Regions from separate parts of the Homo sapiens genome. Here region 2 is linked to region 1. The links are contacts of gene promoters, found by promoter capture Hi-C in blood cells and fetal thymus (Javierre and others, 2016). All regions are on one chromosome and are shown on one strand. Each heading gives the region's core, a stretch centred on a gene start or on the middle of the fragment in contact. The rest is flanking DNA. Distances are from core to core; before and after follow the strand shown. Region 1 holds the start of SRGN (serglycin). Region 2 has its middle 45 kb from the start of KIFBP.

Region 1 (5,721 bases), core at 1,403-3,902:
GCGTGGCTCAGCTGGTAAGTGAAGGGCATGGGCTTGGACCCAGGACTTCCAGCTGCTGCAGCATGTGTCCTGCTCCCCTACAGCTTGAAGAGGGCTAAATGAGACTGGAGGACTTCTTAGAAAAAGAGACTTGATTATCAGCGTAGTGGGAGAAGAGCAAATGCTTATGAATACTGCACCTGTGCTTTAAAAGTCACCATGAGCTGGGCGTTGTGGCTTACGTCTGTAATCCCAGCACTTTGGGAGGCCGAGACAGGTGGATCACTTGAGGTCAGGAGTTCGAGGGCAGCTTGGCCAACATGACAAAAACCCCATCTGTACTAAAAAAAAGAAAAGAAAAGAAAAGAAAAGAAAGAAAGAAAAAAAATTAGTCAAATGCGTTTGCTTGAACCCAGGAGGTGGAGGTACACCCTGGGCGACAGAGAGAGAGAGGTAAAAAACAACAACAACACCATGACCCAGAGAAAGAAAGAAAAAAAATGAAGTTCCCAAATGGAAAAAGCCCCTAAAATTACCATTTTAAAACACAGCCCTAATCAGCTCTGGGGATTTGCAGGAAACTCATCGAAGCTATTGATAGGAACTATTGTTTTGGTGCCAGGGTTTTCAATTGGGAGTTAGATTTAAAAGGACCAAAGATGACATCTGATATTTCAAACAGAAACCGACATTTCTCAGTGGAAAACTTTCCGGGCCAGTGCATTTTGGGGTTGGTTACTGTGCTTGGAGACGCCCCTGAGTTGGAGGACACACTTCTGGCTGATGTGAGGGGCTTCTGAGGAGGGCCAAAATGTACACTCTTTGTGTTCTTGCACCACGGCTATTAGACTGTGAGACTCTGTCCTTAGCAGGAAATGGTAAAGGAATCAGCAGGAAGCCTAAAACAAGGGAAGGGAAACTCCTCCCTCCTATCAAAGGCCAGGCAAGGGCGAGGATGAGAATGGAAAGTGGGGCACGTGCATTAAGCCGTCTGGGGGAGCGGTAGGGATAGACATGTTGAAATGGAGAGTGGTTGAATCTTGAAAGGAAGTAAGGAAAATGTATATGCCACAAGGGCAAGGATGTATGATAGGCTTGTATTTATTGTATAACTTTATTTTATTTTATTTTATTATTTTTAGTTTTTTGAAATAGAGTCTCTCTCTGTCACCCAGGCTGGAGTGCAATGGCACGATCTTGGCTCACTGCAACCTCTGCCTCCCGGGTTCAAGCGATTCTCCTACCCCAGCCTCCCGAGTAGCTGGGACTACAGGCACTCGCCACCACGCCCGGCTAATTTTTTGTATTTTTAGTGGAGACGGGGTTTCACGGTGTTAGCCAGGATGGTCTCGATCTCCTGACCTTGTGATCCACCCACCTCAGCCTCCCAAAGTGCTGGGATTACAGGTGTGGACCACAGCACCTGGCCTTTATTGTATAACTTTAATATGGAGCCTTAGTCCTCCAGAAATCTGCACCATGCCCAGGGAAAATGCTGTTCCTTTATTTACATGAGGCAGAGGTTTGTGTTGTTTGCTGAGGTCCAGCAGCTCACTGTGAGGACAACCTCTCCCTCGTTCCTGATTTCTGGCTTATTCAAGGCCAGAGGACCCAAAACTCGAGTTGAAAATTTTGACTAGGAGAACAGATAAAAATAGAAATGGAATCCATCTTAAGAAATGCTCAATGTGAAGGAGAGGGGAATGCAAAATAGTTTTTCTGTTTTACCACAGTCTTTGTAACTGAAAATCCTATGTTCTTGAGATAGAGAGAGAGCCAATGATCCAATGCAAGAAACTGAGTTTAAGAAGAAACTGTTTGCTGGGCACGGTGGCTCACGCCTGTAATCCCAGCACTTTGGGAGGCTGAGGCAGGCGGATGGCCTGAGGTTGGGAGTTTGAGGCCAGCCTGGCCAACATGGTGACACGTCGTCTCTACTAAAAATACAAAATTAGTCCAGCGCAGTGGTGTACGCCTGTAATCCCAGCTACTCAGGAGGCTGAGGCAGGAGAATTGCTTGAACCCTGGAGATGGAGGTTGCAGTGAGCTGAGATCGCGCCACTGCTCTCCAGCCTGGGTGACAGAGTGAGACTCCATCTCAAAAAAAAAAAAAAAAAAAAAAAAAAGAAGAAAAAGAAGAAGAAGAAACTGTTCATCTGAAATCCGACAACTCATTCTTGAAGGTTAGAGCTCAGCTTTGAAGTTTCACTTCACGAGCTTGGCTCAGTGAGGTATGTTACTCCCCGGTGAAAAAGAAAATGAAGAGAATGTTTTATGTTGAAAGTGCTTGGTGACGAAAAGGCAGCACCTAGATCCCTTATCTCATAAAAAATGCAGCAGATTCTTAATATTAGCAATCTAGTGTTTAGATTGTTACCTGAAGAAAGGAAAAACAAACTGTCCCAAATGCTGATTCTACTGTTTCGGTGGGAAAAAAAAATGTCTTGCAGGCAAGTGGCAAACAACAAAACTTTTGAAAAAGCAGGCCTGGGGGGAGTCCAGTACAGTTTCATAATGGGTATGAATAGTTATTTTACTGTGTTCCCCCCACCCCCTTTCTTTCTGGGTTTTGATGTGGATGTCTTTCTATTTGTTCAGGAAATTGTGACGTGTGTTCTGGGCAGGGTTTGAGGTTTTGGAACATTTTCTAAAAGGGACAGAGAGCACCCTGCTACATTTCCTAATCAAGAAGTTGGCGTGCAGCTGGGAGAGCTAGACTAAGTTGGTCATGATGCAGAAGCTACTCAAATGCAGTCGGCTTGTCCTGGCTCTTGCCCTCATCCTGGTTCTGGAATCCTCAGTTCAAGGTAAGACTCAGGAGTCTTGTTCCCCAGCCATCTTCTCTGTAAGCCCTGTGGTCCATGCAAGTCATTATATTCATTTTAAGGCATAGAATGTATAATATTGTGAGAAAGGAGGCAAAGAAGAAGGATTTGGGGTCGCTGAACCCTTTAATATGAGTTCTGTTAAGTTTGGTACCAAGAAAAATTAAACTCTGTGGCGTGTGCAGTCTTGTAAACTCTTACAATGATTGAAATGTGCTATTTTGGGATGAAAATGTGAGGTTTATAAATTTTAAAAGCTCAAAAAAGGAATCTAGAAAATGACTCCTGTGCCTGTTGCATGGAGGAGATGGCACCTTTGACTGTTGGGGGGTGTCTGCCTACCCCTAAGTGTCTACATCAGCCCCAAGTTTTAGTGCGCTGTGACGGTGTCATTGTTATTTTAACACTGGGAGACGTTATATTCCAATTGGGGTGAATCTGACTGTGTGTATTTTCTTTTCTTTTTTTTTTTTTTAAAGATAAACTTGGTTCTTACTGAAAACTCAATTATGGTTAGACATAGTTCATGTAAAACCTCTCAGATTTTAAAGAGAAGGCCAAATAATTTGGTATTTGTGCTCTTGCTCAGAGAAGCATCATATTCGGAAATATCTTCCTAGGTTTATCTACCATTTAGTGTTGTTTAGTCAGACTGAAACAACTTAAAACCTGTAATGACTAAGACAATGAAAATGATAGGCTTGTAAGAAAAATACAATTTGTTATTCTTTGGCAAATAAGGAATCATGTCTAAATAAGACGGAGGTCATGGCTTGATAGAGAGATGGCTGAACCTATAGTAGAAAAACACTAGGTTCCGCCAAATGGTAAGGGAAATGTTGAGTCACAATGACACACATGTCCTAGATTTGTTTCGTCAAAGCGACTTTTGGTTGTCATGATCTTACTTCCGGTGGAGATGAAATCTTACAGATGATCGCAGAGACATTCATTTTATGTTGGAAATTTATAAAATCATTTTCTTCTAGTTATGCTAATGCTGAAAAAAGAGCAAGTAATGTTTCTGGAACGTTATTAATTTATGTATTTTTAAAATATAAAACATTGTCAATTGTAGGGAACAGGCTTCACTGGGATCTTTTAGGGAATATCTTCAGCTTGATGAAATAATTCCCGAATAGCCAAGTGGTCTGACAAGATCGAGAGTAATGAGGCCCATACTTTAGTACAGTCTTGAATGGCCAGATGGTGCTGGGCATACCCCAACCAGAGATATGTAAGTCTTTATGTTGTCAAAATTTCCCAGAAACATGAATTTCCCACTAAGATTCATTAAGGAAAACTAGAATGAAAACAAAAACGTTCCTTGTATAATATTCATTAGAAAGAAATGAAGAAGGCCGGGCATGGTGGCTCACGCCTGTAATCCCAGCACTTTGAGAGGCCAAGGTAGGCAGATCATGAGGTCAGGAGTTTGAGACCAGCCTGGCCAACATAGTGAAATCCCGTCTCTACCAAAAATACAAAAAAATTAGCCGGGCATGGTGGCACACACCTGTCATCCCAGCTACTCAGGAGGCTGAGGCAGGAGAATTGCTTGAACCTGGGAGGTGGAGGTTGCAGTGAGCTGAGATTGCACCACTGTACTACAGCCTAGGTGACAGTGCAAGACTCTGTCAGAAAGAAAGAAAGAGAGAGAGAGAGAAAGAAAGGAAAGAAAGAAAGAGAAGGAAAGAAAATAATTCATCATGAAATTGTATAGAATACTAGCATTTATGTCATGACCTCGTAGGTTTAGCTCTTTGTTAGAAAAGGAAACCATAGAAAGAGACAAGGGAGAAACTGACAAACTAGGGTGTTTCCGAAAAAAGGCTCTCAGTATCGGGCTCAAGGGCTTGTGCCCACATCTGAGCATGCAGGGAAATAGATGTCCCCCACTGGCTGCACATGTGAGTGACTGCGGCACAAGGCTGTGATGTGAAGAGTCGTGACACCATTTCCTCACACCTCCACGCAATGCCAGATATGATTCGACAACATTCTTCCTGTCTTATAAAAAGTGTTTATCTAGCCCGTTGGTTTGGCAGATGAAATCAACTAGGCTTTTGGCTTGCTTTTACTGAGCATATTCAAAACCATTTCAGGTCACTATAGTGGTTTGCTCGGGTTGCCATAACAAAGTACCACGGACTGAGTGGCTTAAATAACAGAAATGTATTTCCTCACAGTTCTGGAGATGGGAGTCCAAGATCAAGGTGCTGGCAGGGTCGATCGCATTCTGAGGCCTCTCTCCTTGGCTTATAGATGGCGCCTTCTCCCTTGTCTGCACATGGCCTTTCCTCCATGCATCCGTGTCTTAATACCATCTTCTTAGAGGGTCACCAGGCATTGGATCAGGGCCACCCTAATGGCCTCATCTTAACTACCTATATCTGCAATGACCCTATTTCTGAACAATTTCACATTGTGAGATTCTGTGGGTTAGAACTGGAACATATGAATTTGGTGGTGGTATATTTTTATTATAAGTCAAACCCAAGTAAAGATGTGGGGTAAGATTGTGTTTACCAAGCACAAAGAAATGGAAATTTGGGGATGTGTAACTCTGGAGAGCACAGATGACTAATCTATTTAATGTAGGGCTCCAGGGGATTTGATGAGGCCTGTGAATCTTCCACTTTTATTGCCTCTCTTTTCCAATGACACCCATAAAGAAAAAAAATGGAATATCCATGAACAGGTGCAGCCAAGGAGGCCAGGCCCGCCATGTGTCCACTGTATACTGTCTCCTAGCTCACAGGAATGATACTGATCCACTCCTTGTGCTGCTCTTTGTAAAGTGATTTCACATCCATTCTCTGGTAATCATCATCACATTCCCTGTGATGAGGAATTAGCACCAATTATAGAGGAGAAAACTGGATCTGACATTTCTCATCTCATTTGCTCTATACAT
Region 2 (5,721 bases), core at 1,282-3,781, 54 kb before region 1:
TGTGCCCGATCAGTACTATCTTCCTTTGAAGGGGATAAAAGTCACATGCCAGGTGGATGAGAGCTTGGAACTTGGTGAATGAGAAAAATGCAGTTCTCCCCTCATATTTCTGCAGCCAGGCAGCCCAATTTATTAATATATGCACATACAGTGCATACAGCACAGAGTGGACTTAGCCATTGACTGGAGGTCCAGGGACCTCCTTGCTGCTGTCCTAATGCTAACTTTTCAGTCCTCACGATTCCTGGCATTTAATTGACTGACTGCTTCCTCCTTTTTTTTTTTCTTCCTTTTGAGACAGAGTTTCACTCTTGTTGCCCAGGCTGGAGTGCAGTGGCGTGATCTCGGCTTACTGCAATCTCCACCTCCCGGGTTCAAGCAATTCTCCTGCCTCAGTCTCCTAAGTAGCTGGAATTATAGGCACCTGCCACTATGCTCGGCTAATTTTTTTGCATTTTTAGTAGAGACAGGGTTTCACCATGTTGGCCAGGCTGGTTTTGAACTCCTGACCTCAAGTGATCCGCTTGCTTTGGCCTCCCAAAGTGCAAGGATTACAGGTGTGAGCCACTGCACCTGGCTGACTGTTTCCTCCTTGAAGCTCCTTCCTCCTTTTCCGTCTACAACACTGCACTTTTCTATTCTTCTATCTTACCAGCCTTTCCTTATGTTTCCTCTAGGGCCTTTTCAATCTATCACTTGACTGTAATGATCCTTAGGATTGTGATGTAGGCTTCTAGCCTCTCCAGGCACCCCAGGGCAATGCTGTTCATTCCTTTTTTTCTTCTTTTCCTTTTTCTTTTGAGACAGGGTCTCACTCTGTCATCTAGGCTAGAGTGCAGTGGCGTGAACTTGGCTCACTGTAGCTTTGACCTTCCAGGCTTAAGCGATCTTCCCACCTCAGCCTCCAGAATAGCTGAGACTACAGGTGCATGCCACAATGCCTGGCTAATTCTGTTCACTTTTTGTAGAGAGGGGGTCTCACTATATTGCCCAGGCTGGTCTTGAACTCCTGGGTTTAAGGGATCCTTCTGCCTCAGCCTCCCAAATGCTGGGATTACAGACATGTGCCACCTCGCCTGGCCTCATACTTAAGACATATTACTTACCATCTATATCTAATTCTTCATCTTAAAAAAAATTGTTTTAGAGATGAGGGTCTCACTATATTCATATTGCCCTGGATTCCTGGGTTCAAGCAATCCTCCCTCCCCAGGCTCCCAAGTAGCTGGGATTATATTTTCAAGTCACTGTGACTGGCTTTTATTTTTATTTTTTTCATTAGTTCTTCATCTGTTTGGCTTACTTATCCTTAAATTAGAATTTATTGAATGCTACTGTCTCTTTCTCTCTCTCTCACATGTGCACACATACATATACTTTTATTCATTTCCTTTTTAGTTATTTTATTATAAATAAGTACATATATACTTAATTTTTAAATTTATTATTATTATTTTGAGTTGGAGTCTCGCTCTGTTGCCCAGGCTGGAGTGCAGTGGCACGATCTCCACTCACTGCAACCTCTGCCTCCCAGGTTCAAGCGATTCTCCTGCCTTAGCCTCCTGAGTAGCTGGGACTACAAGTGCATGCCACCACGCCTGGCTAATTTTTTGTATTTTTAGTAGAGACAGGGTTTCACCATGTTAGCCAGGATGGTCTTGATCTGCTGATTTCATGATCCACCCACCTCGGCCTCCCAAAGTGCTGGGATTATAGGTGGGAGCCACCACGCCTGGCCAAGATCCATCTCCTAAAAAAAAATAAATTTAAGAAACACCCGAAATTTGGCCAGGCATGGTGGCTCATGCCTGTAATCCCAGCATTTTGGGAGGCTGAGGCGGGTGGATCACCTGAGGTCAGGAGTTCGAGACCAGCCTGGCCAACATGGTGAAACCCTGTCTCTACTAAAAATACAACAATTAGCTGGGCATGGTGGCACGCGCCTGTAATCCCAGCTACTCAGGAGGCTGAGGGAGGAGAATCACTTGAACTCGGGAAGGGGAGGTTGCAGTGAGCCGAGATCACGACATCACACTCCAGCCTGGGGGACAAGAGCAAGACTGTCTCAAAAAAAAAAAGAAACACCCCAATTTGAAAATAATAGTTGCAAGCAGTTTAAAATGAAAGTGCCAGTCCCAGTCTCTAGTACTATTGTTCCCTACTCATTCCCCTCCACCACTCCCAGGAGAAAATCTGTTTAACCGTCTTTTGGTGGTTACCTGGACATGTTGTAATAACATGTTCATATCACTATTTCTTGATTTAGCAATTTAAAACATTATCTGTTGATTTCTCCAATGATGGCAAATGATTTAATTCACTTACAACACCCCACTTCCCCTCCTCACTTCTTTCAATGTATCTCCCAATATAACACTTTTTTGTTAAACCATATATGTAATATATATACATATATCTACTTGCATATGTATAATACATATAGTAAATTTGTAGATATAGGTGTGTGTTGTTCTATTTCTTGACCACCCACTAAGATAAGAATATTAGTGCCCCTACCCTTCAAACTTCCCTTTCTTCATCAACCTCACAAATCCTCTGTATTCTCATTTATACATTGTCAGGGGTTATGCATACATTCTATTATGTGGTCATAATTATTAGTATGTCTCTTAGCCGGGCATTGTGGTGGGCACCTGTAATCACAGCTACTTGGGAGGCTGAGGCAGGAGAATTGTGTGAACCTGGGAGGTGGAGGTGGCAGTGAGCCGAGATCGTGCCACTGCCCTCCAGCCTGGGCAACAGAGTGAGACTCCTTCTCAAGAAAAAAAAAATTATTACTGTATCTCTGTCTGTAGGGAGATCCTGAAGGTTAGTAATCAATCAACAAATATTGTCTACATTATGACTGTGTATATATATATTGCCCACTGCAGAATCAAGTAAAATATACGTCACCATTATTGTTGTTGATTTGAGACAGGGTCCGTCTCTGTTACCCAGGCTGGAGTGCAGTGAGGTGATCATGGCTCACTGCAACATCAACCTCCCAGGCTCAAGTGATCTTCCCACCTCAGTCTCCCATATAGCTGAGACTATAGGCATGCACCACCACACCCGGCTAATTTATTTTTATTCTTTGTAGAGATAAAGGTCTCCCTATGTTGCACAGGCTGGTCTCCAACTCCTGGGCTCAGGCAATCCTTGCACCTTGGCCTCCCAAAGTGCTGGGATTACAGGCATGAGCCACTGTGCCCAGCCTGAAATATACTTTGATTATGTTCCTTTCCTGCACAGATTTGTGTTCTTCCTGGAGTTCCTAACTTTGCTCTTTTTCCTTTCAGTATTTGCCCTTAATATCTTCAGATTGTCAAACTCACCATCATCATAACCAATTCTATAGAGTTATTTTCTCCCCCAAAGACCTCCCTCCAGGAGCTCCCCTTCCTACTCCAGTCCGGGCTGATTGTTCTCTGACTGCTGCTCAGCTACCACCCTGGAATGTGGAGGTGGAGGTGAGATGCCTCTCTAAGAAGATGAGCTGGGGCTGGGTGAGGTGGCTCATGCCTGTAATCCCAGAACTTTGGGAGGCCAAGGTGGGCAGATCACTTGAGGTCAGGAGTTCGAGACCAGCCTGGCCAACGTGGTGAAACCCCCGTATCTATAAAAATACAAAAATTAGTAGGGCATGGTGGCAGGCACCTGTAGTCCCTGTTACTTGGGAGGCTGAGGCATGAGAATTGCTTGAACCCGGGAGGTGGAGGTTGCAGCGAGGTGAGATCACACCTGCCTGGGTGACAGAACGAGACTCTGTCTCGAAAAAAAAAAAAAGATGAGCTGGGAGGTGAGGTGCACAGTTTGGGAAGGAGGCGAGCCCTCTTGGATCTGCAAGTCAGCAGGCTCACCCAAAATGAGTCTTGTGTGTCGACACCGAGGAAAGAAGTTCACCTGGCCGAGCTGGGATGAAGGAAGAGACACATGCAGTTACGATAGGCAGAGGAAGCATGGCATGTTTTGCAGGGGAAGAGATGGAAAGACTTGGGTTAGTTTTAGCACCAAAGGCTCAGAGAGAAAAATAAGGAGATCAATCCTGGCTGAAGACACTGAAAGAAGTACTGATCAAGACAGAAGGCCCGGCTTGGTGCGGTGGCTGACACCTGTCATCCCAGCATTTTGAGAGGTTGAGGCAGGAGGATCATTTGAGCATAGAAGTTCAAGACCAGCCTGGGCAACATAGGGAGACCCCCATCTTGGAAAAAAATAATTAATTAATTAGCCAGACATGTTGGCACAGGCCTGTAGACCCAGCTACTTGGGAGGCTGAGGTGGGAGGATTACTTGAGCCTGGGAGATCGCACTATGAGGCCAGAGGGTAGATTGGGGCCAGACAGAGCAGCCCATGAAGGACCTGAATTCCGGGTGAGGAGTGTGGGCTTGTCCTGCAGGCAGGCAGGTGGAGTCACTGGCTATGCTTTAACAGAGGTGTGTTATGAACCAACTGCTGAAATACTGGATGTTTTAGTTTTCCATTTGCTGTAACAAATTACCACAAACTTGGTGGTTAAAACTACATGAATTTACTATTTTACAGTTCCGTAGTTCTGTGTAAGTCTGACATGAGTCTTAGTGGCATAAAACTTAGGTGTTGACAAGGCTGCAGGCCTCTCTGGAGGTTCTAGAGAGAGTTTTCTTACCTTCTCCAGCCTCCAGAGGCTGCCCACATTGCTTGGCTTGTGGCCCCTTCTGTCGTCTTCAAGCTGGCGAAGGCAAGTCTAGCCCCTCTCACATCACATCATTAGGACCTATCTTTTGTCTTTTGTCTTCCTCTTCCACTTCTGTGAGAAAGGACCTCTGTGATGATGTTGGGCCCACCCGGATGATCCAGGAGAATCTCTCTTTTTTAAGAGCATATGATTGGCCAGGCGCGGTGGCTAACACTTGTAATCCCAGCACTTTGGGAGGCTGAGGTAGGCGGATCATGAGGTCAGGAGATCAAGACCACGGTGAAACCCCAGCTCTACTAAAAATATAAAAAATTAGCCAGGCCTGATGGCGGGTACCTGTAGTCCCAGCTACCTGGGAGGCTGAGGCAGGAGAATGGCGTGAACCCGGGAGGCAGAGCTTGCAGTGAGCTGAGATCGTGCCACTGCACTCCAGCCTGGGCGACAGAGCTAGATTCCGTCTCAAAAAAAAAAAGGGGGGGGGGCATATGATTAGCAGCCTTAATCCATCTGCATCCCCAATTTCCCTTTGCTGTGTAAGGCAACAGTCACCATTTCTAGGAATTAGGACAATTAAGACATGGACATCTTTGGGGAGGTGGTGGTGCTATTATTCTCCCTACTACATTGTATTAGTCGGGTCTCTTTGCAAGTACAAAAGAAAGAAAGAAAAAAGAAAAGAAAAGAACCATGTATTGACTTAGATAACCGAGTGCTCAGCATCTTTCTCGCTTTACCTCTTGGATCTGCTTTCCTTGCTGTTGATTTTGGGCAGTCTCTTTCCATGAGTGGCCCTGGAGCCCCAGGCTTACATCCTACCAGCTTAGCAATGTTAACGAAGGGTCCTCTCTCCTGGTAATTTTAGCATAACCCAGGATGATGAGTATTGACTCTCACTAACCCATCTTCTGTCCAGGGCTGTCCCTGGACCAAACCCTGTGGCCTAGGAGAAATTCTCATGGGTCAGGCATGAATTTCATATGCATCCCTGAAGCTGAAACTTCAGAAGCCCCCCTAAAGCACAGGGAATGAGACCTGGGGG

Evidence for each region. Contacts are between HindIII fragments. The CHiCAGO score rates a contact against its expected background, and 5 or more counts as called.
Region 2: a contact is called between a fragment that was not itself captured here and the fragment with the promoter of SRGN in region 1, in 4 of 17 cell types (monocytes, neutrophils, total CD8 T cells and 1 more). The highest score is 16.8, in monocytes.

What each region holds. Positions count from the first base shown.
Region 1 is chr10:69,085,451-69,091,171 of GRCh38, forward strand. SRGN (serglycin) reads left to right here and starts at 2,653. Exons shown (of 3, transcript NM_002727.4): 1 at 2,653-2,786. The coding sequence starts at 2,708. RefSeq lists enhancers at 967-1,136, 2,784-3,983 and a silencer at 4,682-4,861. The HindIII fragment of the contact is 21,371 bases long and covers 1-5,721 here.
Region 2 is chr10:69,031,286-69,037,006 of GRCh38, forward strand. No RefSeq gene overlaps it. Among named protein-coding and RNA genes, the nearest start is that of KIFBP, 45 kb to the left of the region's middle. The HindIII fragment of the contact is 8,335 bases long and covers 1-5,721 here.